4 separate regions of the Homo sapiens genome follow, and all the other regions are linked to region 4. Evidence: promoter capture Hi-C in 16 types of primary human blood cells and fetal thymus (Javierre and others, 2016). All regions are on one chromosome and are shown on one strand. The core of a region is centred on a gene start or on the middle of the fragment in contact, and the rest is flanking DNA. Distances in the headings are between cores, read along the strand shown.

Region 1 (2,844 bases), core at 1-2,500, 100 kb before region 4:
TATCCATGGGACTTCTTGTTCCTTTCTTTGGTTATCTTATTTTATTTTTGTTAGTGGAGCGGTGGTGAAAGTTGAAATGACTGGCTAAATGAGACTTAGGGATTACATGGGGATTTATTTTCAAACGTTCTCTCCATTTACAGACCTAGTACAGATTTGGCTGTATTTTTATTGTGCATTAAATAGCCGAGGAAATTAGACTTTTTAGAGAACACTCAAAAGGCAGATGAAGGCATTTGCATCCGAATTCGTACTCATAAATGCTGTGTCCTCCAGAAACCCAGAGCTTCCAACTCTCAGACAACCAACCCAGTTGCCATAGCAAATAATATAAACATATGGTTGCTTTAAGATTGCGCTTCACAATGCTGATTCTGCTTAGTGCGACTGCTGTCTACACAAGCCATCCTCCATCACTGGTTTGGCACGGGCTTGTGACGCAACCCTGGTTGGTGAGATGGCAACGATACTCTGCTGGAGCCTTCTGGAAATGTTTTCCTGTCTTATAAAGGGAAACGCCGACAGGGATTTGCTCCTCTTCCTTGATGTCCCTGAGTGTTGCAACGTGAAGCCGTGGCACTTCTAGCAGCTGGGGCCACCTTGGGACCATGAAGGAAAAGGCGAATGTATTTCTGAGAAGTGGCTCTAGGTCCCAGCATCACCCAGCTACTCAGTGAAGCAACCCTGCAACATCGCCCGCAGATGTCTTGTGTTGCAAGAGAAGGCAGTGTCCTTGTGGTTGAAGCCAAAAGCATCCTAACAGGTACTAGGCTCAAAAGAGAGCTGGGGAAATACAACTGAAAACCAGAGTTTTGGTTCATTTGAGTAGGGAAATACTGAAAAGACTGATCTCAGCCAGGGCTTGCAAGAACACTCTTGGACACTCAGGGGAAAGGAGAAATCGCCACAGCTTTCTAAAGACCACTTGGCAGCTGCATACACTTAAAACAGGCACAGCCCTTGCTGAAGCAATTCTGTTCTAAGAGTGTGTCTGCACATTGCTTCTCCTCTTCCTTGCCCTGCTTTCGGCCTAGGAAGCTGACCTGCACCAACAGCACCTGCCCAGTTTCCGCCCCAATGAGGTTTCTGGGTTGGCTCAGCAGGGGACCAGGGTGGAAGGAGCGGGACATCTGGCCCTGCCTCCCACTCCGGCCCCTGGCTGCGGTTCTAGGCCGAGGCTGCCTCTCGGGTTCCAGCTTCTTGGCCTGTGTCACTCGGGTTCTAGGCCGAGGCTGCCTCTCGGGTTCCAGCTTCTTGGCCTGGGTCACTCTCTGCAGAGTCCCTCCCCTTAATCCTTTCAATGTTGGTTCCCTTAACTCTACCCTTCCCCCCGTAATTGACAGGCCCTCATCAACTCCTCTGTTCAGCCCTCTGAGACCACCTGTCACTCAACATGCTTCAAGCTGCCAGGATCCTAACACGCTGTCCTCAGAGATGCACCCCAGATCCAAAGACTTCACTACAGCCTTGCTGCCGTTGATTAACTCAAAAGCCCACCTGTCCAGTAACTGGGACAGTTAAGTATACCACGGTTCATGCATTTTACACAATATCCTCTTTTCCAACAAATATTTAAGAAGCAAGTACTTCATGTTCAAGGACTGGCCTAAGAGCCGGGTCCACCACAGTGAGTGAAGGCCAGTCATAACGCAGCCTCTCAAATTTGAAGTCTTGGTGGGGAACCGGGCATGAGCCACACATCCCCGTGCAGGAAGGCAGGGCTACGAGCGCCTGGCAGGGCTCAGGGACACCGACACAGCAGGAGCTTCTAGATTAATAACCATGTGAACAAAACCACTAAAAACACAGTCTCAACAGCACTAGCCCAGTCATGTGAATACAAAGCGCACATACATACGTGTGTGTTTGGAAAGGACTGAATGAGGTCTGAAGAGGTGACTCCTGAGTGCTGATAAGGGAGCTGGAATATTTGGAAGACAGAGAAGGGATCTTTTTCTTCCTCCCTGATAATACTTTTGTAGTCATTTTTGGCTGTAAGCAAATATGCATGGACAGCTTTTGAAATTAACAAATCATCAAAGAAATAAAACTGGTTATGAAATTGATTAAAATGGGACATCACCTGATTGGGCCTAAACAGCCTCTTTGGCAAAACAGCACAGGAAAGTCATGAACACATGCTCACCTGCCTTCCTCATTTTCACTTTAATTCCGTGATGCCTCTGTGTCTGTCTGACAACATCTCTCGTGGGGTCTGTGACTCTGCTGGTCTTCAGTGCCCACTGAGAGGGGTCCTTTGCCGTCATCAGGCATAAAATCTTCAAAGCTCTCCATCCTCAATGTGGGGTCCCTGGGCCAGTGGCATCAGCCTCACCAGGAAACCTGTTGATCTGCTCATTCTTGGGCCCCACCCCAGGCCTATTCAAAGAAAGACTCCAGGGGCAGGGCCTGGCAGTCTGTGTTTCCACCAGATCTGTGTTAATGCTCACATGAGCCAGCCCAGGTGATGCTGACGCCGGAGGCGCAAGATTGGGAGCCAGTGTCTAAGGAAACTATGCCCATGGGGACAGGGGCAGCCCCTGGAGGTTCAGAAAGAAATTAGGGAAAATCTCTTCGGCACATTGAGGCAATTAAGACACACACAAGGAAGCTTTTTAATCTGTGTTTGTTTAAATGGTGTAAAGTCCCTCTCCCCTCTGCCTCCGTATGCAACCTCAACAATTCAGTCCCAAAGCCTCAGGCAGCAGCCTAGGTTGGGTGTCCAGGGATCAGAGCCCAGGCCAGAGGGTGGGTGCACACAGTGGCGGCCACAGAGAGCTCAAGCAAATCAGTAAGTAGGGGAAGATAACAAAAGCCAGTAAAAAAGAAAAAAAAGGCCAGGCC
Region 2 (2,700 bases), core at 24-2,523, 130 kb before region 4:
CCCGTGCAGCCCGCGCCGCCAGGATCTCCTGCACCGCCAGCCGCCTCTTCCCCACGCTCGGAGGGCTCTCAGGGCACACGGTCTGGCACACGATGGCCACGGCGGGGCTGTAGAGGCTCGTGGTCATCCGGACCATGTGGTCCAGGACGCCCCCGTCCTCCGGGCCCCGCACGGAGCGCGGCGTCAGCACGGACAGCACGCAGTCTGTGAGCCTCTGCAGGCAGTTCTTGGAGCCCGCGGGCTTCCGCGCCGCTTCAGGGGGCGGCGGCAGCTCGGGCCGGTACTTCTCCCAGAACTGCTCCGGGCAGGGGCGCTCCAGCAGCCTCTGCATGAGACGGACGGCATCCACGCGGCCCGTGTAAGTGGCCCACTCCTGCGGCGACATCCCACGGCGGGGGTCCCTCGCGTGGACATCCGCCCCTGCAAAACGCAAAACACAAACAGAAGTGGGTGGCGGCAACAAGGACTCTTCCCTCCCAGGCAGAGCCTGGGGCAAAGGCAAAACTGCCCCCACCCCCCACCCCTGGCCCCAAGCCTCCTAACAGACTGCACCTAGTTCACTCTGCGAACCCTGTGCTCATCTGAGCGCCGGAAGGCGGGCCTGGAGTGCAGTGGCGGGAACACGTCCTACTGTAGCCTCGACTTCCGGGGCTCAAGCCATCCCCCCAAGTCAGCCTCCCGAGTAGCTGGGGCTACACCACCGCCCAGGTAATTTTCTGTAGAGATGGGGCCTGGCTATGTGGCCCAGGCTGGTTTCGAACTGCTGGGTTCAAGCAATCCTCCCACCTCCGCCTTCCAAAGTGCTGGGATTACGGGCGTGAGCCACCGTGCCCAGCCCAACCTGCCTTTTAAGTGCTCCATTGATTATCTGTCCTGAATAAAACCCCGCCTGAATTCAGCACCTAAATTACAGAATTTTTTTTTTCGAGACAGAATTTCACTCTTGTTGCCCAGGCTGGAGTGCAATGGCACAATCTCCGTTCACCGCAACCTCTGCCTCCCGGGTTCAAGCGACTCTCCTGCCTCAGCCTCCCGAGTAGCTGGGATTACAGGCATGTGCTACCACGCCAGGCTAATTTTGTATTTTTAGTAGAGAGGGGGTTTCTCCATGTTGGTCAGGCTAGTCTCGAACTCCCAACCTCAGGTGATCCACCCGCCTCGGCCTCCCAAAGTGCTGGGATTACAGGCGTGAGCCACTGCGCCTGGCCAAATTACAGAATTTTTTAAAGAAATAAGATCCTATAGCTTTCCATCAATGGAGAGATGACCAGACAACAAAGCTGCCTTGCATACTTGAATGCTGTGGCTAGAAAGTTCTAAAAATATGACCAGTAACAGTCACTTGCAAAGTGGTGGCACCCCAGCTGTGGTCTCACTCTTGAGGACTGCCATGGGTCCTGGACTGTGGGAAATGGGTGGTTCCTTCGCTTCTCCCACTGCGGCCTAGCTGGCTGGGGTCTGTCTACCTTTAACCGATGGTGGGCTTTTCCAGGATAGAAAAATTCATTTTTGTTTGCTCAACACGTTTCATCCTGGTGGGTAGGGGGCATGAATTTTTAAAAGGCTTGTTGCAAAAAGAATGGCAGTCACAGTGGCTGTGGGCTAGTAACAGAGAGAGGGTCTAAGACTTGGGTGTCCTAACCTCAGTCTAATGTACTTCCTACCACCTGGCAGTCCTGGTGTGATGGTCAGTTTTAGTTTTCTATGTCAACTTGGCTAGGCTAGAATACCCAGTGATTTAATCAAACATGGATCTAAGTGTTGCCCCAAAGGTATTTTGCAGCTGTGGTTAACATCTATAATCAGTTGACTCTAAGTCAAGGAGATTACCCTTCATAATGCGGGTGGGCCTCGCCCAATTAGTTGAGGGCATTAAGAGCAAAGACCAAGGTTTCCTGGAAACAAAGAAATTCCACCTCAAGACTGCGGCATCTACTTACTGCTGCCTGAGTTTCCAGCCTTCGAGCCTACCGCACCAGTTTCAGACTCACCAACCCCCCAAACCACACAGCCAATTCCTTAAAATAAATCTCTTGATATCCACATCCTATTGGTTGACTGATAGGTCCCCTTACACAGTCTCCCTGACACTAGTCACTCCCTTAATAAATCTCCCCAGTCCACCCACTGCCCCCAAATATTGCAAAGTTAAACTTCAACTCAACTTGATGAAATCTGCATAAATTTCAATGTTGTAGTATAGAAATTAATACGGAATTGCTGTTCAATTAATCTTGGTCCAATCTCAGTCCCACATACTGTTAAAAATCATTGAGGGGCCAGGCATAGTGGCTCACACCTGTAATCCTAGCACTTTGGAGGCCGAGGAGGGCAGATCTCCTGACGTCAGGGGTTTGGGACCAACCTGGCCAATACATGGTGAAACCCCACCTCTACTAAAAACACACAAAAAATTAGCTGGGCGTGGTGGCAGGCACCTGTAATCCCAACTACTCAGGAGGCTGAGGCAGGAGAATCGCTTCAACCCGGGAGGCAGAGGTTGCAGTGAGCCGAGATCGCACCACCGCACTCCAGCCTGATTAACAGAGAAAGACTCCATTTCAAAAAAAAAAAAATCATTGAGGATTTCAAGTCCCATTAGTCATATCTCCACCAGCAAAGCAACATGGAGAACTAGGGCAATTATCTAGTCTGTGAGCTCAAAGGGGACCGGACCCGACAGACGCTTCTTCATTTATA
Region 3 (3,084 bases), core at 105-2,604, 85 kb after region 4:
GAAAACAATCATGGAAAAAATTCTGAACCTATAAACAAAGAAAAATTAGAAATAGTCTGAAGCAAAAGGATCTCCTCAGGGCACTCAGAAGGAAAAAAACATCACGCAAGTCTTTCCTTTTTATCTGGGACATATGGTCAGGTATGTACAATGGATTTGATTGGTTTTACTCTAAGTATTCAGCTAAAAGACAACCTTAGTGAAACTGACTTTCTGATCTCGTAGCAGACATGCAGAAGTGGGCAGTAGCTTGCTATTGCACAAAATGTGGGGCCTTACTCTTCCCAGTGAGGACGGTCTACAGTTCAAGTTAGGGAGACAGAAGGGGAGGGATGTGTCCTCTGCAACTATGCATTTAAATGTATACATAAAAGGGAGTCGCCACAGTCACATTTAACTGGAGTTGTTTTTCCTTCCTATTATAACATCTGGATTATCTATGCTGGCTAATAATGCATATTTCTGCAATCTTAAAGCAATCTTGCAATAACACAAAAACAAACAAAAAAACTAGACTACAATTAACATTCACTTTATTCAGTTTTGTCCTCTCAACTTAGAAGGCAACAAATGACCACATTAAAAAGGGAGCATTTCAGAATATATATACATAAAATTGGTCTGGGTACCCTAAGGTGTTTGCGTTGATAGAAAATTGACACCCCAAACTAAGTGTTCTACTTAGCTTCTACAATAGTTATTCCTAGACCTTAGATTAGTCATTACATTTTTATTTAAGGTACTATGTTACTTTCATGACTACAAAATGAGGCACTCGTACAAAACAGGAATGAAAACATACATATACTGTCTTGTCTTTATGTCGTATTAATGCCAAAGATATTGTCAGGGATTATTTTAAAGAAGCCCTTACTCATGATGGCTATTTTTAAAAATGGCACAGGACAGTAACAGGCTGAAAAGAAAACACCTGGTTGAGGGGACAAATTAAGTAAATACAAGACAGCTTAACCAAGGAAGTCAGCGAATCTCCACAAATGAGGCTTTTAATAATACTTTACTGGTAAGACATTTTAGTTGGGTTTTTTTTTGATGGCTGAATAACATCCTAAAGAAGTATTTTAAATATAATCTTTTAATTTTACAATGTAGAAAACTTCTCACAGTAAGTAGAGAGCTTAGAGTACTCAACCCTGAAAATGAAAATAAGTAGCTAGCTTGGAAAGTTTTAAAAAGCGCCAGTGTTCTTATGGCACTACATTCTCCTGCACGTGTGCGTGTGTTCACGCACATTCGCAAACGCAATACAATGTAGAACTGTCCAGTGTTTGTTTTGTTTTAAAAAGTCATCAATTCAACCTAAATTCAAGAATTACACTTTAATAGTGGCATTTTGCCAATACAGAAATGACGTATCTTGGATCAAATCATTTTAAGGAAAGTTATTCTATATTACTTGAATAAGGGAAAGAAAATACACAAGACAAGAATCCACAATAATAGCAGTTACATTAAATGTTGAAATAAAAATTACTTTTTGTTTACATCTGGAATTGAGATGGCCCATCTTCATTGTTTCTCCAGAGTACTAAGAGGGGGAAAAAAGTCACCTAAAAACATGGGAAGTTTTTTAAGGCTAGCTATACACAAACGTCACATTGGCATTTTTCTTCAGTTTTCATCTCAACTATTAGTACTAAATAGTTTAAAAATCAAACATAATTTACTAATAATGAACAACTGCACACTTCATACTATGACCGTTTGATAACTGGTCATGTAAAACTATCACCAAATGCTGATTTGTCTTCTATATATAAATAGTAAAAATAAAACAAAAAGGTCTTCTTTCCTAGTTAACCTTCTTGAAGGTTGTTTTAACCCAATATAAAATTAAGCAAAATAATAGTATAATTTAAAAAAAAATTTATGTGAAGAAGGGCAGCAATACTAACATTTTCTGAACTATGGGTTTTCAATATTTAAAAGGCTCTTGGTTAAATACTAAAACCCGGATGCTACCCAAGCAAATATTATGCTGGAAAATGCTTTCCCTATGAAAATACTTATCTCATTGAAAACAACACGATAAAGTACAATTGAAAAACTAGGGGAGAATTCTTAAGTAAGACAATATAAATTACCTGCCAGTAAAATGGAGGGCAATTTTTTGGCCATTCATATTGTTTGTTTACAAAACATTGATAAGATTCATTTAAAATTCTGTAGGATTAAGAATTTTTAACCTTTTGAAGTATCTGCCTAGGATCTCTTGCTGTTAAAACAGATATGTTCCAATGACTTTATACCAAGATCCACAAATTCTTTGAAAAATTAAAAAACAAAACAAAACAAAACAAAAAACCCAAAATTAATATAATCAAGTTGGCCAGGCGTGGGGGCTCACACCTATAATCCCAGCACTTTGGGAGCCCAAGGAGGACGGATCACCTGCAGTCAGGAGTTCCGAGACCAGCCTGGCCAACATGGTGAAACCCTATCTCTACTAAAATAACTAAAATAAGCCAGGTGTGGTGGCACGCACCTGTAGTACCAGCTACTTGGGAGGCTGAGGCAGGAGAATCGCTTGAACCTGGGAGGCAGAGGGTGCAGTGAACCAGGATCGTGCCACTGCACTCCAGCCTGGGCAACAGAGTAAGACTCTGTCTCGGGGGCAAAAAAAAAAAAAAAAAAAAAAAAAAAAAAATATATATATATATATATATATATATATATATATATATATATATATATATATATATATAGTTATATAGTTATATAGTTATATGCTCAATTCAATAATAATGTTTTTCTCCCAAAGAGAGCAATTTAGAAATACACTATGACAGGCAGCATTATATTTTAAAATCCTAATTTTTTATAGTAGGACTAAATTTCTGAGTAAAGGTAGGGCTAACAAAGACCTTATTTCAAATGAGAGAAAAGGCTGCTCTAAAGTGCCAAAGAGTATAACACTGAATCCTATGTCAAGCATTATTTCTGATACTGATTTTTTTTTTTTTTTCCAATTTTGCCTAGGTTGGCCTCGAACGCATAGCCTCGCCTCCTTGTGTGCCAGGACAACCGGCCGGAGCCACCGCAGCTCCCGATACCGATGTTTTT
Region 4 (2,706 bases), core at 42-2,541:
CCTGCCACCATGTAAAATGTGCCTTTGCTCCTCCTTCACCTTCCACCATGATTGGGAGGCCTCCCCCACCATGTGGAACTGTGAGTGCATTAAACTCTTTTTCTTTATAAATTACCCAGTCTTGAGTATTTCTTCACAGGAGTGTGAAAATGGACTAATACAGATCATGATCCCTGCCACAACCTTGCTTGAGTGTGGCCTACTGGGCCCTTCATTGTCTAAATCTGGCTCACATCTGAGTTTTGACTGAGCATCTCTCACCCTTTCTAGGGGCCACCTCTCTCTATTCACACACACATACAGACACACACACACAGGCACAAACATGTGCACACACACACACACATGTGCGTGCACCCCACTAAAGCAATACCAACCCGTTTGCCCAGGCCCAGCCCTCTCACTCCCCAATGCCCTCCCCTCCCCTTCTCAGGCCTGATGTCAGCCTCAATTCCACCAGCAGGCTTTTTTCAGGAACTTGCAACTCCTTCCAGTCAAAATACAGCATTTTCTGTATGCCCCACATTCTCAACGCACAGATGATGAGAGACAGACAGATAACTGTCTTCTCCCAGTTTAGTTAGTGAGACAAAAAAATACAATTGCCTGCCAAGTCTAAGCACCCTCTAGACCTGCACAGTCTTCCAGCCGTCCAGTCGAGGCCTAGGCCTGTGCCCATCAGAGGTGACACCACGGAATGAGCGTTTCCCGTGAGCCTGGTGCTCTTCGGGCACTAACAACACTCGGTCCTCAAACAGCCTGCCCAGGTGTGTACTGTTATCACCTCCATTGCACAGAGGAAGACGTGCAAGGCACAGAGAGGTTAAGTCACTTTCCCACTGCCACAGAGCTGGTAAGTGGTGGAGACTGGATTTGAACCTAGGCAGCTCTAGAACTCGCTCTCCTAACCAGAATCCAAAGGGCCTTGCCTCACCAAATGTCCCCATTCCCAGACCTGCATCACCCAACAGTGCCCATGACACGGGGTTTACCATAGTTATCTATGCTGCGTAACAAGCATCCCACATTTGATGGCATCAAACAAGAACCATTTTCCCATGCCCAGGGATTCTGCAAGTCAGGAGTTTGGAGAGGATGAAGCCTCAGCCAGGAAGCTGTGAATGGCCATGGCTGACATCCTCCAGGGGCTTCTTCCCTCTTAACCCCTGCCCTGGGAAGCCAGGTTCAGCCAAGCCTGTGTATGAGCCCCAGTGCCTGGCTGCTTCCTGTACCTTGGGCTTCTGGCAGCACAGAGGCGGAGTTCTGAGCAGGAACTTCCTGAAGGGAACGTTCCAAGGGAACCAGGCCTCAGCATCAGGCCTGTTCTGCCCTGGCCTCGGATTGTAGCACTACGCCAGCCTGGGACATCATCGGCATCGATTCTACTCCATCCTATCAGTCACAAGGGAGCCACAGGCCAGCCCTGGGTTCCCAGGGATGGAGAGACTCTGCTTCTGCATGCGGGAATGACACAGTCACACTGCAGAAGAACACGAGTGTAGAAGGCAGCATCATGGCCATTTTTGGTAAACACAACCTGCTGCTCACCCGCCTTGCCCAAGCCTACCTCTTCCAGAAACTTCTGTGTCCCAATTATGGTTCACCTTGATGTCCTAAAGGTATTGACTGCTTACTTCATTGGTCACATTGTCCCTGTGAATGGAAAACCATGACTTAGGGCTACCATACGAGCATTCCATGGTGGCCAGAGTGGCCTGACCCCCTAGTGGTACTAGTGGGGATGACGCTGGAACTGATAGTGGCCTCCCTCTTGTGTTGTTGTGGCATCTTTCCCGGCAATTGGGTGATCAGAAGACACCTGCATTTCTGACCCAAAGCTCTTACAACTTGCAATTGCTCAGGTGGTTGGGGGCGGATCACCTGAGGTTGGGAGTTCGAGACCAGCCTGACTAACGTGGAGAAACCCCAACTCTACTAAAATTACAAAATTAGCCAGGCGTGGTGGTGCATGCCTGTAATCCCAGCTACTCGGGAGTCTGAAGTAGGAGAATCACTTGAACCCGGGAGGCAGAGGTTGTGGTGCACCGAGATCACGCCATTGCACTCAAGCCTGGGCAACAAGAGCCAAACTCCATCTCAAAAAAAAAAAAAAAAAAAGGAACTTGAGCTTTCAGGTTATCATTTGACCATTGACCAAAAACAAGCAGCATTTCTGCTGTGGGGGGGGCGGGGGGGCAGGGGGGCCAGGGGGTGGAAATGGTACAGAATCTTATATTTGTTCAGCTGCTTTATTTTTTTTTTGGTGGCCCCTGGATGAAGAATGGAGATGCAGGCTTGCTGTGTGGCTATAATTGATTTAATACTCAAAAAAAGGGACCAAGAGTCAAAAGCATTTTCTCAAAGTACTCACTACTTTTAAATGACTCTCTAGAAGGAGAGGAAAGGAGGTTTCCTCCAACTCTGCTTTCCCTGGCCTTTGAGAGGCGTGGAAAGAGCCATACGTCCTCACAAATGGTATTCAAAATATGTTTGGCAGCAACTTTTTTATGAAAACACACAAAAGCTTGAGCTAGTACACTGAAATATTAAATACACTTCAATATTTTAGATACTCCTGAAATGCCAACTGACCAAACCAGTCTTTTTTCCCAACTGGGTGTGAAACTCACAACGATCAAGTTTAAGCAATGTATTCATAACTGAGCGTTGACCCCAGGAGATGCCCACTGCCCCAGTAGGGAGGGA

Evidence for each region. Contacts are between HindIII fragments. The CHiCAGO score rates a contact against its expected background, and 5 or more counts as called.
Region 1: a fragment that was not itself captured here is called in contact with the fragment with the promoter of LINC02213 in region 4 in 7 of 17 cell types (endothelial precursors, M0 macrophages, M2 macrophages and 4 more); the score reaches 6.8 in endothelial precursors.
Region 2: a contact is called between a fragment that was not itself captured here and the fragment with the promoter of LINC02213 in region 4, in 1 of 17 cell types (neutrophils). The highest score is 5.3, in neutrophils.
Region 3: a fragment that was not itself captured here is called in contact with the fragment with the promoter of LINC02213 in region 4 in 1 of 17 cell types (neutrophils); the score reaches 5.1 in neutrophils.

Annotation. Positions count from the first base shown.
Region 1 is chr5:10,624,421-10,627,264 of GRCh38, reverse strand. All of the region lies in intron 2 of ANKRD33B (ankyrin repeat domain 33B), which reads right to left. Among named protein-coding and RNA genes, the nearest start is that of ANKRD33B, 62 kb to the right of the region's middle. The HindIII fragment of the contact is 2,727 bases long and covers 1-2,613 here.
Region 2 is chr5:10,646,986-10,649,685 of GRCh38, reverse strand. ANKRD33B (ankyrin repeat domain 33B) reads right to left here. Exons shown (of 4, transcript NM_001164440.2): 4 at 1-420. Among named protein-coding and RNA genes, the nearest start is that of ANKRD33B, 84 kb to the right of the region's middle. The HindIII fragment of the contact is 8,941 bases long and covers 1-2,700 here.
Region 3 is chr5:10,435,282-10,438,365 of GRCh38, reverse strand. MARCHF6 (membrane associated ring-CH-type finger 6) reads right to left here. Exons shown (of 26, transcript NM_005885.4): 26 at 1-3,084. Among named protein-coding and RNA genes, the nearest start is that of ROPN1L-AS1, 5.0 kb to the left of the region's middle. The HindIII fragment of the contact is 4,108 bases long and covers 1-3,084 here.
Region 4 is chr5:10,520,669-10,523,374 of GRCh38, reverse strand. LINC02213 (long intergenic non-protein coding RNA 2213) reads left to right here and starts at 1,291. Exons shown (of 3, transcript NR_134289.1): 1 at 1,291-1,619. The HindIII fragment of the contact is 13,630 bases long and covers 1-2,526 here.